Linked DNA regions of Homo sapiens: all the other regions are linked to region 2. Evidence: promoter capture Hi-C in 16 types of primary human blood cells and fetal thymus (Javierre and others, 2016). All regions are on one chromosome and are shown on one strand. The core of a region is centred on a gene start or on the middle of the fragment in contact, and the rest is flanking DNA. Distances in the headings are between cores, read along the strand shown. Region 1 has its middle 49 kb from the start of FOS. Region 2 holds the start of BATF (basic leucine zipper ATF-like transcription factor). Region 3 overlaps NEK9 (NIMA related kinase 9).

Region 1 (4,260 bases), core at 603-3,102, 290 kb after region 2:
GTTTCAGGCCTCAACTCTTGGCAAGACATTGTCTCTCTCAGAGGCCTTTAGAATGTCTCCAAAGCACGCTACAGTGTATCTGCTGAACTGTTAGCCAACAGCCTCTGTATCTCATGGGCAGGTATCAGTTTCACTGTTGTAATATCCCCTCAACAACCATTGCAATGGCCAGGACATGTGGCCTGGCCTGTGGTTCAGAAACATAGTCACTGTAGCCATATATGACCCCAGAAACAGGGAACAGGTCTATGAGGTTGATTTGCCTGATTCCTACTCCACCCCCACATATGTGTATGCACACACACAGACACATACATGCATGTGTGCACACACACCCATATACATGCAGGTGTGCACACACACCCATATACACGCATGTGTGCACACACATGCACCCACCTTATTGGCGCCACTGATAATATAAAATACCTGTAACAAGGGACAGAACTTTTTATTTTTCTATGTGTAAGAAGATTTATGGGGTAAAAGCTCCTGAATAGGCCGGGCGCGGTGGCTCGTGTCTGTAATTCCAGCACTTTGGGAGTCTGAGGCAGGTGGATCACAAGCTCAAGAGATCAAGACCATACTAGCCAACATGGTGAAACCCCATGTCTACTAAAAATACAAAACTTCGCTGGGCGTGGTGGCGCACTCCTATAGTCTCAGCCACTAAGGAGGCTGAGGCAAGAGAATTGCTGGAACCCTGGAGGTGGAGGTTGCAGTGAGCCAAGATCACGCCTGGGAAACAGAGCGAGACTCCAGAAAAAAAAAGAAAGAAGAAGAGAGAGAGCGAGAGAAAGGAAGAAAAAAGAAAGGAAGGAAGGAAGGAAGGAAGGAAGGAAGGAAGGAAGGAAGAGAGAGGAGGGATTTCTCAAGGATCAGCGTATCTAAGCCAAAGGCCTTAGGGGAAGGGAGAGAAAGGAAGTGCGGGGCTTGGCAGGCACCTCTCCCTGCCTTTGATTCAGACATTCCTGGTGCTTACTGGGTGTAGACACTTTTCTCTCAGCCTGCTTCCTTGTAGGCAAAATGGGTGTAATAATCGCACTCACCTCATGGGGTTATTTTAAGAATTATATGAAACAATGCATGTTAGGCAGACAATTCAAGGCTCAGCACACAGAAAGCCACCCTTTAGCTATTACCAGTATTTGACCTGTAATCAGGCTCAAAGAGTGTCTTTTAGGGTCTCAAAAATTGGGTGCAAATTGGCTCTCCTCAGTAGTTGGTGGTTGCTCATCAGGTGTTTAGGACGTCTGCAAAGTAAGGAGGTCTGACAGACTCCTCATTGTAAGCTGTTCCCTAGTCACTCTGCCCCCATACTGGGAGTGGCAAGGGAGGCATTTGGCAAGAAACCCAGCAGTGAGACAATAGGTGTGAAAGATGAACAGGAAGTGTGGTTTGGAAGCAAGTGCTAGCACCAAACCACTCATGGAGAACACCTAATCTGGCTGCTGATTGGGCGCTGAGCCATCACTCATATCAAGCTTCAATGGGAAGGTTTGTATCCATGCCCAAACTTACAGCACACGGACCTTCACCAGGGAGATTGACTGAACTGGTGACCAAGGGCTCCCTTGAGACAGCATGGCCTTTGGCCTTCCAGGTTCAAATCCTAGGTCACTCAGTTACTACCTGAGGCACATTATTTAACCTCTTGGAGCCCCATCTGTCTTATCTTTGAAACAGGCATGGCTGTTGGGAGGGTTAGTGGAGATAACATGGAAAGAGCCTAGCACAGGGCCTGGCCCACTCCACAAATGCGAGCTCCCTCCCATTTCCCCTCCCAGGCATCTGAGACACCCCTCCACCCCTTCCTTGTCTCCTCACTGAAGACAGTTAAGCATGCTGTCTGGGGATGACGCCAGTTCTTGATTATTTGATATTGCCACACATCTGGCCTTATCACTGACTATTGACTATAAGACTGGCTGCCCTCTGCTCCACCTGGCTCCTTCCGGCCAGGTGGCTTCTCCTGACGCACTTGGACAACAGTGAAGGGTTGGGCCAGGTCGCCTGGTGGCACCAGGGTTGATGTGAAAGAGTTTTTCCTCAATATTCCAAACTTAAGAGAAGGAATGACTTTAAAAATGCATATGTATCTGCATGCCTGAAACACACACCTTTGAGAAGTTTCCTTCCTTTGAGTACCCAGACTGCAGTTGTTCTGACAAGTGCCCTGCCTGATCCTCCCTCTGAACACTTTCGTAGTTCCCAAGCTTCTCTTCCAGATAATCTAGGGTTCCTGTTTCTCAGCTCATCTCCTAAATGTTGGGGTTCTAGGAGATTCTGCCGTCAGTGCCCCCACCCACCATGCTCTCTGCATGACCTCAACCACAGCCATACCCTGCTGAGTTCCGAATCCATCTGCCTGGCTCTTCTGCCCACACATCTGCATACACAGCTGCCTCCATTTCCACCTGGTGGTTCTTAGACTTAACGTGTACAAAACAGAATGATGGATCTTCTTGACACACACCTAATTCTTCTATATTCTGTGCCCCAGTAAATGGCATGTCCTGCAAACCCAGAAGCATAAGCAAATCTCTTGATCTCCCTCTTCTGTTAATTCTATTTCCTTAGTATCTCTTGACTGTATCCCCTCCTTCCCATCTACCTTCCACCTCTGCATTCTGGCTGCCGCTGTATCTCCCCTGTAACACGGGAACCACGGCCTCAGTGGGCTCCTTGCTTCTAGTCGTTGTTCTCCACCATTGCCCCTAGAGACAACTTTCTAAAATGTAAATCTGACGGCACGCCTCCTCTTACTTAAAAATCTCTCAGCCAGGAGCGATAGCTCACGCCTGTAATCCCAGCACTTTGGGAGGCTGAGGCGGGCAGATCATGAGGTCAGGAGATTGAGACCAGCCTGACCAACATGGAGAAATTCCGTCTCTACTAAAAATACAAAAATTATCCGAGCGTGGTGGTGCATGCCTGTAATCCCAGCTACTCGGGAGGCTGAGGCAGGAGAATCGCTTGAATCCGGGAGGCGGAGGTTGCAGTGAGCCAAGATTGTGCCATTGCACTCCAGCCTGGCAACAAGAGTGAAACTGTCTCAAAAACAAAAACAAAAACCTCTCAAGGGCCCTTTCTCAGTCAAGGTCCAGACGGGGAACTGAAATCACACCAGCTATTGTAACACATTGTAACAGGGTCAATTTAAGATAAAGAATTGTTTACTAGGTCCAAAACAAAAAAGAATTGTTAACTTCAACTTGGAAAGTGAAATGACAAAGAGAACACTGAGGTATCACTGAGGCAGCAACTGCAGGAAACAGCTACTCCTCCTCCCAGGACTGTGGGAACAAAGGGAAAAAGGTGGGATTATTCATTTAGGGAGGAGGGATCCATGGCTTTAATGATAAGAAACAAACTAGTATGACATGCAAAGTCCTCGTGGTCTGTCCCCTGCTTTCTTTCTGGCTTCCTCTGTAGTCACAGCACCGGCTTCCTCATCCTCAGCCCAGGCTGAGCCACTCTGCTCTCACCACTCCATGCTTTTTACACGTGCAGCTGCTGCCTGGAATACTGTTCTTCACCCTTTTTCCTGGTAACTCACCATTCATTCACAAGACTTTGCTGACCGCTGCCCCACTTCAGGCTGAGTTCAGTAGCCCCCTTTCTTTTCTTTTCTTTTCTTTTTTTATTTTTTTGAGACGGAGTTTCACTCTTGTTGCCCAGGCTGGAGTGCAATGGCACAATCTCAGCTCACTGCAACCTCCACCTCCTGGGTTCAAGCGATTCTCCTGCCTCAGCCTCCTGAGTAGCTGGGATTACAGGCAAATGCCACCACACCTGGCTAATTTTTTGTATATTTTAGTAGAGACAGGGTTTCACCATGTTGGTCAGGCTGGTCTCGAACTCCCGACCTCAGGTGATCTGCTCACCTCAGCCTCCCCAAGTGCTAGGATTACAGGCATGAGCCACCGTGCCCAGCCTCAGTGGCCCCCTTTCTTTTATTTTTTTGAGACAAGGTCTTGCTCTGTCACCCAGGCTAGGTGCAGTGGCACGATCTCAACTCACTGCAGCCTCAACCTCCCGGGCTCAAGCAATGCTCCCATGACAGCCTCCCAAGTAGCCAGGACTACAGGCACGTGTCACCATGCCCAGCAAATATGTAAATGTTTTGTAGAGACGGGGTTTCACCATGTTGCCCAGGGTGGTCTTGAACTCCTAGACTTAAGCCATCCACCTGCCTCGGCCTCCGAAAGTGCTGGGATTACAAGTGTGAGCCACCGTGCCCAGCCTCAGTGGCCCCCT
Region 2 (4,570 bases), core at 1,180-3,679:
ATTCCCAGGTCTCTGACTTTTTTGACCAATAGCTACAGGAAAAAGAAAAGAGAACTTGAGGACTCAATAGAGCTGTATTTGGCCAAAAAAAAAAAAAATGGTTAAGGCGATGAAGTGTGTTTTATCACCTCTCCTCTGTAGGGCTGCTCCACCCTCGCCCTCTCACTTTTTGGCCTTTAGGCTCTTCTTGCTGTTCTTTTAGCTGTTTTCTTTTTTTCAGACTTTGTTGAGTGCCTACTATATGCCAACCTCTGGGCAAGTGTTCTTTCAGAAGTGCTCTTGTTTAATTCCCCAATGCTGTGAAGTTGATATCATCATTTCCATTTTATATGTGAGGAAACTGAGGCTCTAAGAGTGTGCCCAAGGACTCCTGGTCATCTGAGAGTGCTACATCTTCTGGTGCTGAGCCCAATGGCTTTCCAAGACCCTTCCCCGCTAGCTACTCTGCACCCCATGTGGTCTTCTGCTGCATTCCTGAGCTGAGGGTGCATCCCAGATCTGCCTCCTCTTTCCTTCCGTTGTGCTCAGCCACTGTGACATTCCCCATGGCCCCAGCACAATGCCTGGCACATCAATGCCAAAAAGAACGTTAATGGTGGAGGTGACCTGGCTGTGGTGGGCAGTAGATGGGTGCTTGGTAGGATAAGGGGATCTTTGGGTGTTCTCTAATTACACCCAGAGAGAGGCATGTCCTGTGCCTGGGCAGAGAGGTTAGCTCCAGTTCTCTCCCAGATGCTGCAGTGTAGGTGTAGGAGTCCTGGCAACTCATGCCCTGTTCCCTTCCACGTCTCCCACAGGCTAGAGGGGCACAGATCCAAGGGCAAAGCTCTGGGATCACTAAGTACTGGGCTCACCAACATGTCCAATACTTTCAGGCCTTTGTGGTAGGAGGTCATTGGCATAGATAGGAAGGAAGTGCTCTTCCTCTAAGGGGGATGGGGCACCAGGTTACCATGGAAGCCATGAGTAATTTCCTTCCTAAGAAAAGTACAAACTTCCAGGCAGTCAGAGCCACTCTGACACCATCTTGAGCAGCAGACTGGATTCTGTGCCTTCTAGAGGTCTCCACCCAGACTCATCCCAGCCTGCTGCTCCGTTATTAGAGGCTTAGGATATACGCCCTGTTCAATATTTATATACTTTTATTTTGGCTGCAGCATTTTGAAAACCCTTGTGGATATCTGTGCTAAGGAAAGAATGAAGTTTTTAAACTATGAAGGTTGAGAAAATTTTAACCCACGGATACATGTCGGATGAGAAAGAGGAGGGCTTCCTACAGCAAGGGATGTCAAGAGTGTGGTGCAGAACAAAACCCTAGAAGCTGTGAGATGGGCAGGGCACTCCTTTTTTGGTAATCCTCAAGCTAAAACCTTTGGACTTGGAAGTCACAATCTAGACTCCAAATGCTCCCACAATCCCTATCTCAGTCTCTCTGGTTTCCCCAGAGCTAAGATGAACTACCAGCAAATGTCTTCCAACAAATTTCCAGAGCCACCTCCTCATTCATTTCCTTGCTCCTATCCAGAAGCCACAAGCAAAGAGATATTGGCTGGACCTCTAGCATCTCCCCTTGCTGGCTGTGCTAGCAACAGAGGCAGTGCCCCAGTAGAGAGATCCTTCTATGCTAGCCTGGGTTTCTCCTCCTCCTCCTCCTTCTTCCTCTTCTTCTTCTTCTTTTTTTTTTTTTTTAACTTTTCCCTAACCCCTTTTCTCCCCTTCCCTATTGGCTGTCTCCTGGGAAACTGCATATCTAGGATTTGAGCTGTGCATGCCAGCGGCCCACTTGAAAACTCCTCTCACTTTTCTACAGCCTTGGAGAACAGTAGACTCTTTTCTCTGCATTCTTTGATGTTCATCCTCCTCTTTGCTTCCTAGAAAGCTTTTTAGGGTGGCAACCCCAGTGAGGCAGAGGTGATAGGCAGCCTTGGAAAATGGAGAGAAAAAGGGGCTTTGGCAGAATGGGTGGAAGGATGAGGATCTCTGCCAATATGCACAGCTTAGTAGCAAATTCCATGTCCTAAGTCTAACAGAGTGCCCGTGCAACGAGCCACTTCCTCCATCCTCAGCTCCCTGGGCAGGACAAGGAAGCCTGGCTCTCTTTCCATCCCCCAGGAGAATCAGAAGGTAGGAGAGAGAAAAAGGAGGACTCTACCTGTTTGCCAGGGGGAGGAGAGCGGCTGAAGCTGGAGTCACTGCTGTCGGAGCTGTGAGGCATGGCTGAAATCTTCCGGGCTCTCACACTCAGCCCCAGGCACCTCTGGGCTCTCTTGTCACCAGCTGGGCTCCCTTCCTGACTTCTCCTGGGCCACCAGCCCACCACCCCCTACAGGTGCCTCCTCTGCCTGCCCTGTAGCCACCTCTGACCCCTGCGTCCTCCTCACTCTGGGGTGCAGAGGGACTGCTCCCCAAAGGGACATGTCGCTCGCTTTGGGGCTTGCACGCTCTCTCTCTCTCTTGTGGTTTCTGGTAACTCACGCTGGAAGTCACATGGGCGGAAACTTCAGCGAGTTAGAAGTTAGAGAGAAAAATACATATCTGGGAAAAGACCTACAGAATTATGTGAAAGAAAAAAAAATACAGATACCTTCCGACAGTTTGAAAGACACAGCAGCCCTCTTCAATTGATGAAGATAAAAGAGAAAAACAGCCCAGGCAGGGAAAAACCCCAGCCAGAATTAGCAAGTCCGTCTTCTGTCAACATGGGCAGAGAGGAGAGGACAACCAGGAAAATGTTTCCATTGTCATACGACTTGATTTTTAAACCAAAATAAAGCAAAAACACTGGGATTTCTTTCTGGTTTTCAGCCGAAAGCAGCTGCTCACCCATCTTGTCTTTCCTCACCCCTTAAGTCCAGCCAGCCTCGGGGTGGTCTGGAGATAAGACGATCCAAGGGTATTCTCCTTTCCTGACCATCAAACACAAGGGCTGTGGGAGATCAGAAAGCCACAAGGGAGGTTCTAGAATTGCTGCTCTGAAAGCCTATTAAGCGCCTGTGCTGCTTGGCAGGGAGCTCACACTCTTTAGAGAAAAGATGCCTTCCATATTGAGCAGCTCAAGACAGGCCCTGAATCTTTATGATTCAAGGTCACCTGGTCAGAACCCAGAATGCAGAAACAGTTAAAAAAAAAAAAGAAAGAAAGAAAGAAAGAAAAAGTGAAACAAATACTACACTTGGAGTCAGACCAACCAAGATTTAAATTCTGGTTCTACCACTTTGTATGTCTGTGGCCCTGGGTAGCTCACTTGAGCTATGTGACCTTCATTATCTTCATCTGTAAACAGAGGATGATAAAACCTGCCCTGCCTACCTCTTAGGAATGTGGCACAAAGCAAATGACAACGCGGATTAGAATGCCCCGCAGACTCTGAAGTAAATGACCGAGAGGGTAAGTGTAGGGTATTCCCAGCCTTGCCATGAGCGCATTTGTAGGGTTCTCAGTGATCAATTCAACCCTCACCTGGGCATCGTGGCTTTTTCAAAAGGCCTTACCTTATTCCCAGTATGGCTCGAAGCCAAACATTTGCCTTATTAAATTTTAGGATTGACAGGAAGTTACGGCTCCTAGAGGATTTTTGTATCCATGAGCTGAATTTCTAGACTAAGACAATATTGCCCTAAGGTTAAATTAAGTAAGACAAAATTCCTTTCCTATGGAGGAAAATAAAGCAGGGTTGGAGGTTAGGGAATTCTGGGTGGTCAGAAGGGCCTTGCCCAAAGAGGGGATACCTGAGCAGAGATTCGAAGAAAGAGAGGGAGTGAATGGTGAGTGTCTCAGGGAAGGACATTCCAGGACCTGAGGTGGAAGTGTGCTTGAGTATTGGAAAAAGAGCAGGGGGGCCAGGTAGTTGGATATCAGAGGCAGCAAAAGTGGCAGGCGATGAGGTCAGTGAGGTAATGGCCCGGTCAGGGAGGGCCTTAGAGGCCAACATCAGGATTTTAGCTTTCATTCTGAAAGACACAGTGAGCCCATGGAGGGTTTCCCCTTCCACCTTCATTCTTATCCTCTACCTCAGCTACTATTCATTTCTCCCATAGCAGTTACCCAATTTTATACTTATTTTATTCGTTTACTGATTTATCTTTTTCCTGTTTCCCTCAATAGAATGTTAAAACCATTTACACCTTTATTAATATATTCAACAAACGTTCATGGTGCATCTACCATGTGCCAGGCACTAAGTACTGAGGATACAGTTAGTAAAAAGAAGCTTGACTTTTTGTCTAAATGAGATAGTCTATCAGTGTTCGCTGCCCAAAAAACTACCAGAAACTTCGATGACTCAAGCCATTTATTTGGCTCATGAGTCTGTGGGTCATCTGAAAGGTTCTTTGGGGATAGGCTGGGCTAGGCTGATCTCGGCTAGGCTCGGTCATGTGTCCTCAGACAGCTGGTAGGTTGGCTGATAATTGACTGGTCTGGCCTGGCTTTGCCTTGGGCATTTCTCCTCCACATGGTCTCTCATCCACCAACAGGCTGGTCGGAGCATGTTTATTTGATAGTGGCAGGATTCCAAGAGTAGGAGCAGAAGCATTCGAAGCCCCATGGAACCCAGGCTCAGAGCTAGCAC
Region 3 (4,712 bases), core at 2,201-4,700, 430 kb after region 2:
CTCGGCTAATTTCTGTATTTTTAGTAGAGACGGGGTTTCTTTATGTTGGTCAGCTGGTCTCGAACTCCCAACCTCAGGTGATCCGCTTGCCTCGGCCTCCCAAAGTGCTGAGATTACAGGCGTGAGCCATTGTGCCTGGCCTTTTTTTTTTTTTTTTTTTTTTTTTTTTTTTTTTTTGAGATGGAGTCTTGCTCTATTGCCCAGCCTAGAGTACAATGGCGCGATCTTGGCTCACTGCAACCTCCACCTCCCGGGTTCAAGTGATTCTTGTGCCTCAGCCTCCTGAGTAGCTGGAACTACAGGCACAAACCACCACGTCCAGCTAATTTTTGTATTTTTAGTACAGACAGGGTTTCACCATGTTAGCCAGGCTGGTCTCGAACTCCTGACCTCGTGATCTGCCCACCTCGGCCTGCCAGAGTGCTGGGATTACAGGTGTGAGCCACTGCACCTGGTCCTCTGTGGCTATTTCTTTCCGCAGTATTGTCTGGTTCCTCACTCCTCTTCTTTTTTTTTTTTTTTTGAGACACAATCTCACTGTTGTCGCCCAGGCTGGAGTGCAGTGGCGCGATCTCAGCTCACTGCAACTACCGCCTCCCAGGTTCAAGCGATTCTCCTGCCTTAGCCTCCTGAGTAGCTGGGATTACAGGCACTCGCCACCATGCCCAGCTAATTTTTGTATTTTTAGTAGAGATGGGGTTTTGCCCTGTTAGCCAGACTGGTCTTGAACTCCTGACCTCAGATGATCCACCCGCCTTGGCCTCCGAAAGTGCTGGGATTATAGGCGTGAGCCACCACTCCTGGTCACTCCTTCTCTTCTGTACTGCTGCTGTTGCTATCCTACATTCCCTTCCTTCTTTGCTTGCTTTTTTCCTCTTTTTTCTTTTTCCTGTGTCATCATCTGAACTTCTAAATTTTTGTAGCCACTTTTTTCACTTGACTGGTAACAACTCACATTTCATTTTCTCTCTTTTTCTTTTTGAGACAGAGTCTCGCTCTGTCACCCAGGCTGGAGTACAGTGGTATGATCTCGGCTCAGTGCAGCCTCCACCTCCCGGGTTCAAGTGCTTCTCCTGCCTCAGCCTCCCAAGTAGCTGGAATTACAGGCGTGTGCCACCATGCCCAGCCAATACATTTAATCTTCTTATCTTTTGACTCATCAACTTTTTTGTTGTTGCTTGTGCTCTGAGATATCCTTGTTTTCTTTTGGTCCATGCCTGTTCTGTACTCATGAGGGGTCTCAGGGATATTGTGATCTGTTACCATATTTAAATAAACCAGCATTCAGAACAGCACATTAACTCTCTCTGCTTGTCCCAAAATAAGGGACTTTAAGGAGCAAACTGTTTAGGTCAGACTTGGATAAATGGAAACGTTACACAGGACAGTCAGGATGTCACTGAAGATAAATTTAGTGCAGCAACTGCAGTAGCACTTTCTGACAGGGCTTCAGAGAGCTCATGTTTCTTGAATAGATCTGTGTAGTTCATGACTTTAACTTCAGAATGAGGAATGTAAATTTGGATTCTGTGGCTGGGCATATTACCTCTTGATGTTCCTATACTCCTCTGAACTGTACTTGATGGCCTCATTCATGTCCAAGTCCTCTTTTAGGCTCTAGGAATATAGAAATGAGTCTCAGAAAACTCCTGCTTTCAAGGAGCTCACACTCTAGTAGAATAGGGGACTAGCACAGGCAGGTGTTAGGTGCTATAATAGCAGCAGCCTAGTCTTCTAAGTCCTGGAGTACCCCAAGGCTCACTTGTCTCTCCAAAGTGAGCTTGTTCCCTTAAATTCCCCCTATACATTGACTGCTTTATATCACCAGGCTTGACCTTCAGACTCATTTATTCAACAGCTCCTCAACTTGATGTCTAAATTTAGGGTGGGCCATATAACCCAGTTATCTTAGACCAATCCTGATTCATGCCTTCATGCCTGTTGTCCTGGCTTAATGATTAATAGCCACCCTGTTTCATTTTTTTTTAAAAGCCTGATTTGGATAAGAAGTTATAGGCATCTCAGACAAACTTAGTATACTCAAAATCAAACTTCTGATTTTCTGCCCAGATCTGTACCTCCTGCAGCCTTCCTGTCTCAGTAAATGGCAACTTCCTCCTACACTCCACATCCCATCCATATTGGTTATCTTCAGAATAAATCCAACCACTTCTCACCATCTCCACTACAACTGGTCTCCCTGCTTCCATCCTTGCTCCCCTGCCATCAGTTCTCCTCAGTAGACAGAGGGATTCTCTTAAATAACTACTGCTCAAAACCTCCAGTGGTTTCCTCTATCAGTCAGTAAGTGCCAGAGTCATCACAGTGGCCCGACTGGCCCTATGTGAGCAGGACCTCAGCCACCTCCTGACCCCTTCTGTTATTCCGTCCCTTCCTTTACTTTGTTCTAGCTGCAGGGGTCTCCTTGTTCCTTGTTTGTGCTGCTGACATTACTTTTGCTGTTGCTCTTCTCTCTGCCTGGAAACTCTTCGTCACTCCAGTAGATCTCTGTTCAAGTGTCAGAACTCCTCTGACCTACCCTATCTAAAATAATGATATCCCACCCCACTGTTACTCTTTGTTTCCACTTATTTTTCTCCACCATTTATCTTCATAGCATTTATCACCACCTTAAATATTAGGTGTATATTTATTATTATCAGTCTCCCCTACTAGAATGTCAGTTCCACAGGGCAAGGACTTGGTTTTGTTCACTGCTCTATCACCCCATGCAGTACCTGTCATGAAATAGATGTTCAGTCACTGTTTGAATGAATGACCAATAAAAAGTTGTTGAAGAAAAAGGTGAATGATTGGATGAATGAATGAGTGAATGGCAGTACATAGGAAGAGTGGGCATTTTTACCCAAGTGGAATCAGGAAGAGTTTAAGCTTTATATAGGAGAATAAACAGCTTTCCCTTGTTTAGTACATAGTGGGAAGTCTTTCTAGCTCTAGGATATAAAGATGGGGAACCCGGAGAATTGGGAAGCCAGTGTTCTGTTAAATGGTCTACTGTTTAACTTTTTTCCTAGATAATCACATTTTTGCCTGGGGCAATGGTGGTAATGGCCGCCTGGCAATGACCCCCACAGAGAGACCACATGGCTCTGATATCTGTACCTCATGGCCTCGGCCTATTTTTGGATCTCTGCATCATGTCCCGGACCTGTCTTGCCGTGGATGGCATACCATTCTCATCGTTGGTAAGAGTTTCATATGTCTGGGGTTGGGATGGCTTTGACAGAGGATGGACCCACATCTGAGTACTGTTAGTCACATTGTTGGAAACAGAAATGTCCTGAAGAAGCCATTTCTGTAAGTCTTGTAATGGTCAAGGATGCCATGCCTAGTGGTGGGAACAGAACATTGTCATTTCCTGGAGCTTTGCTATCTGCCATCTCTTGATTATTTTTTAATATAAGTTTGGGCTCTGCCTGCCCCCTTAGAATTGATTTTTTTGGTTGTTTTTTTTTGTCTTTTTTTTGAGTTGGAGTTTCACTCTTTTCGCCCAGGCTGGAGTGCTATGGTGTGATCTCGGCTCACTGCAACCTCCGCCTCTTGGGTTCAAGCAAATTCTCTTGCCTCAGCCTCCCAAGTAGCTTGGACTATAGGTGCCTACCACCACGCCTGACTAATTTTTGTATTTTTGGTAGAGATGGGGTTCCACCACGTTGGCCAGGCTGGTCTAGAACTCCTGACCTCAGGTGATCCACCTGCCTCAGCCTCCCAAAGTGCTGGGATTACAGGCATGAGCCACCGTGCCTGGCCCTAGAATTTGTTACTTCTAATCATCCACCAATTAATTTGTTGTCTGTGCTCATGCTTTCATGAGAAACATTCAGTACATCCTTTAAAAGAAACTTTAAATTATAAGCACTTTCTGCATAAAGATTACTTTGTTAGGAACTACTTTATAAATGCCTGTGTAAGGGTTTATAAGTCTACTTTTAGATCAGTGGTTTGCAACCTTAGCAGCACATACATTAGAATCCTTGAGAAGCTTTTTTTTTTTTTTTTTTTTTTTTTGAGACGAAGTCTCGCTCTGTCGCCCAGGCTGGAGCGCAGTGGTGCGATCTCAGCTCACTGCATCCTCCCAGGTTCAAGCGATTCTCCTGCCTCAGTCTCTCGAGTAGCTGGGACTACAGGAGTGTACCATCACACCTGGCTAATTTTTGGATTTTTTAGTAGAGATGGGGTTTCACCATATTAGCCAGGCTGGTCTTGAACTCCTGACCTCATGATCTGCCTGCCTCGGCCTCCCAAAGTGCTGAGATTACAGACATGAGCCACTGAACCCGGCCAAGAAGCTTTTAAGAATACCACGGTCCAGACCCTATCCCTGACCAATTAAATCAGAATCTCTGGGGTGGAACCTACAGACCTATGCAATGTTACTTCCTTTTTTTAAATTTTGAGACAGAGTCTCACTCTGTTACCCAGAGTAGAGTGCAGTGGCACAGACACAGCTCACTGTAGTTTCGCTCTCCCAGGCTCAATTGATCCTCTCACCTGAGCCTCCCAAGTAGCTGGGACTACAGGCCAGTGCCACCACACCTGGCTAGCTTTGCATTTTTTTTTAGAGATTGGGTTTTGCCATGTTGCCTAGGCTGGTCTCAAACACATGGTTACTTTTTAAAACTTCCCAGGTGATTCCAGTGACCAGCCAAGGCAGACAGTTGCTAATGTAGATAGTGAATATACTTAGAATA

What was found. The method cuts DNA at HindIII sites, captures the fragments that hold promoters and counts their contacts. A CHiCAGO score of 5 or more calls a contact.
Region 1: a fragment that was not itself captured here is called in contact with the fragment with the promoter of BATF in region 2 in 1 of 17 cell types (activated CD4 T cells); the score reaches 5.2 in activated CD4 T cells.
Region 3: a fragment that was not itself captured here is called in contact with the fragment with the promoter of BATF in region 2 in 1 of 17 cell types (neutrophils); the score reaches 5.6 in neutrophils.

What each region holds. Positions count from the first base shown.
Region 1 is chr14:75,227,409-75,231,668 of GRCh38, reverse strand. No RefSeq gene overlaps it. Among named protein-coding and RNA genes, the nearest start is that of FOS, 49 kb to the left of the region's middle. RefSeq lists a cis regulatory region at 1,371-1,926. The HindIII fragment of the contact is 732 bases long and covers 1,487-2,218 here.
Region 2 is chr14:75,520,328-75,524,897 of GRCh38, reverse strand. BATF (basic leucine zipper ATF-like transcription factor) reads right to left here and starts at 2,429. Exons shown (of 3, transcript NM_006399.5): 1 at 2,153-2,429. The coding sequence starts at 2,215. RefSeq lists an enhancer at 2,132-2,461. The HindIII fragment of the contact is 2,331 bases long and covers 1,882-4,212 here.
Region 3 is chr14:75,095,594-75,100,305 of GRCh38, reverse strand. NEK9 (NIMA related kinase 9) reads left to right here. Exons shown (of 22, transcript NM_033116.6): 17 at 3,036-3,206. Among named protein-coding and RNA genes, the nearest start is that of ZC2HC1C, 28 kb to the right of the region's middle. RefSeq lists a silencer at 1,045-1,242. The HindIII fragment of the contact is 1,111 bases long and covers 2,895-4,005 here.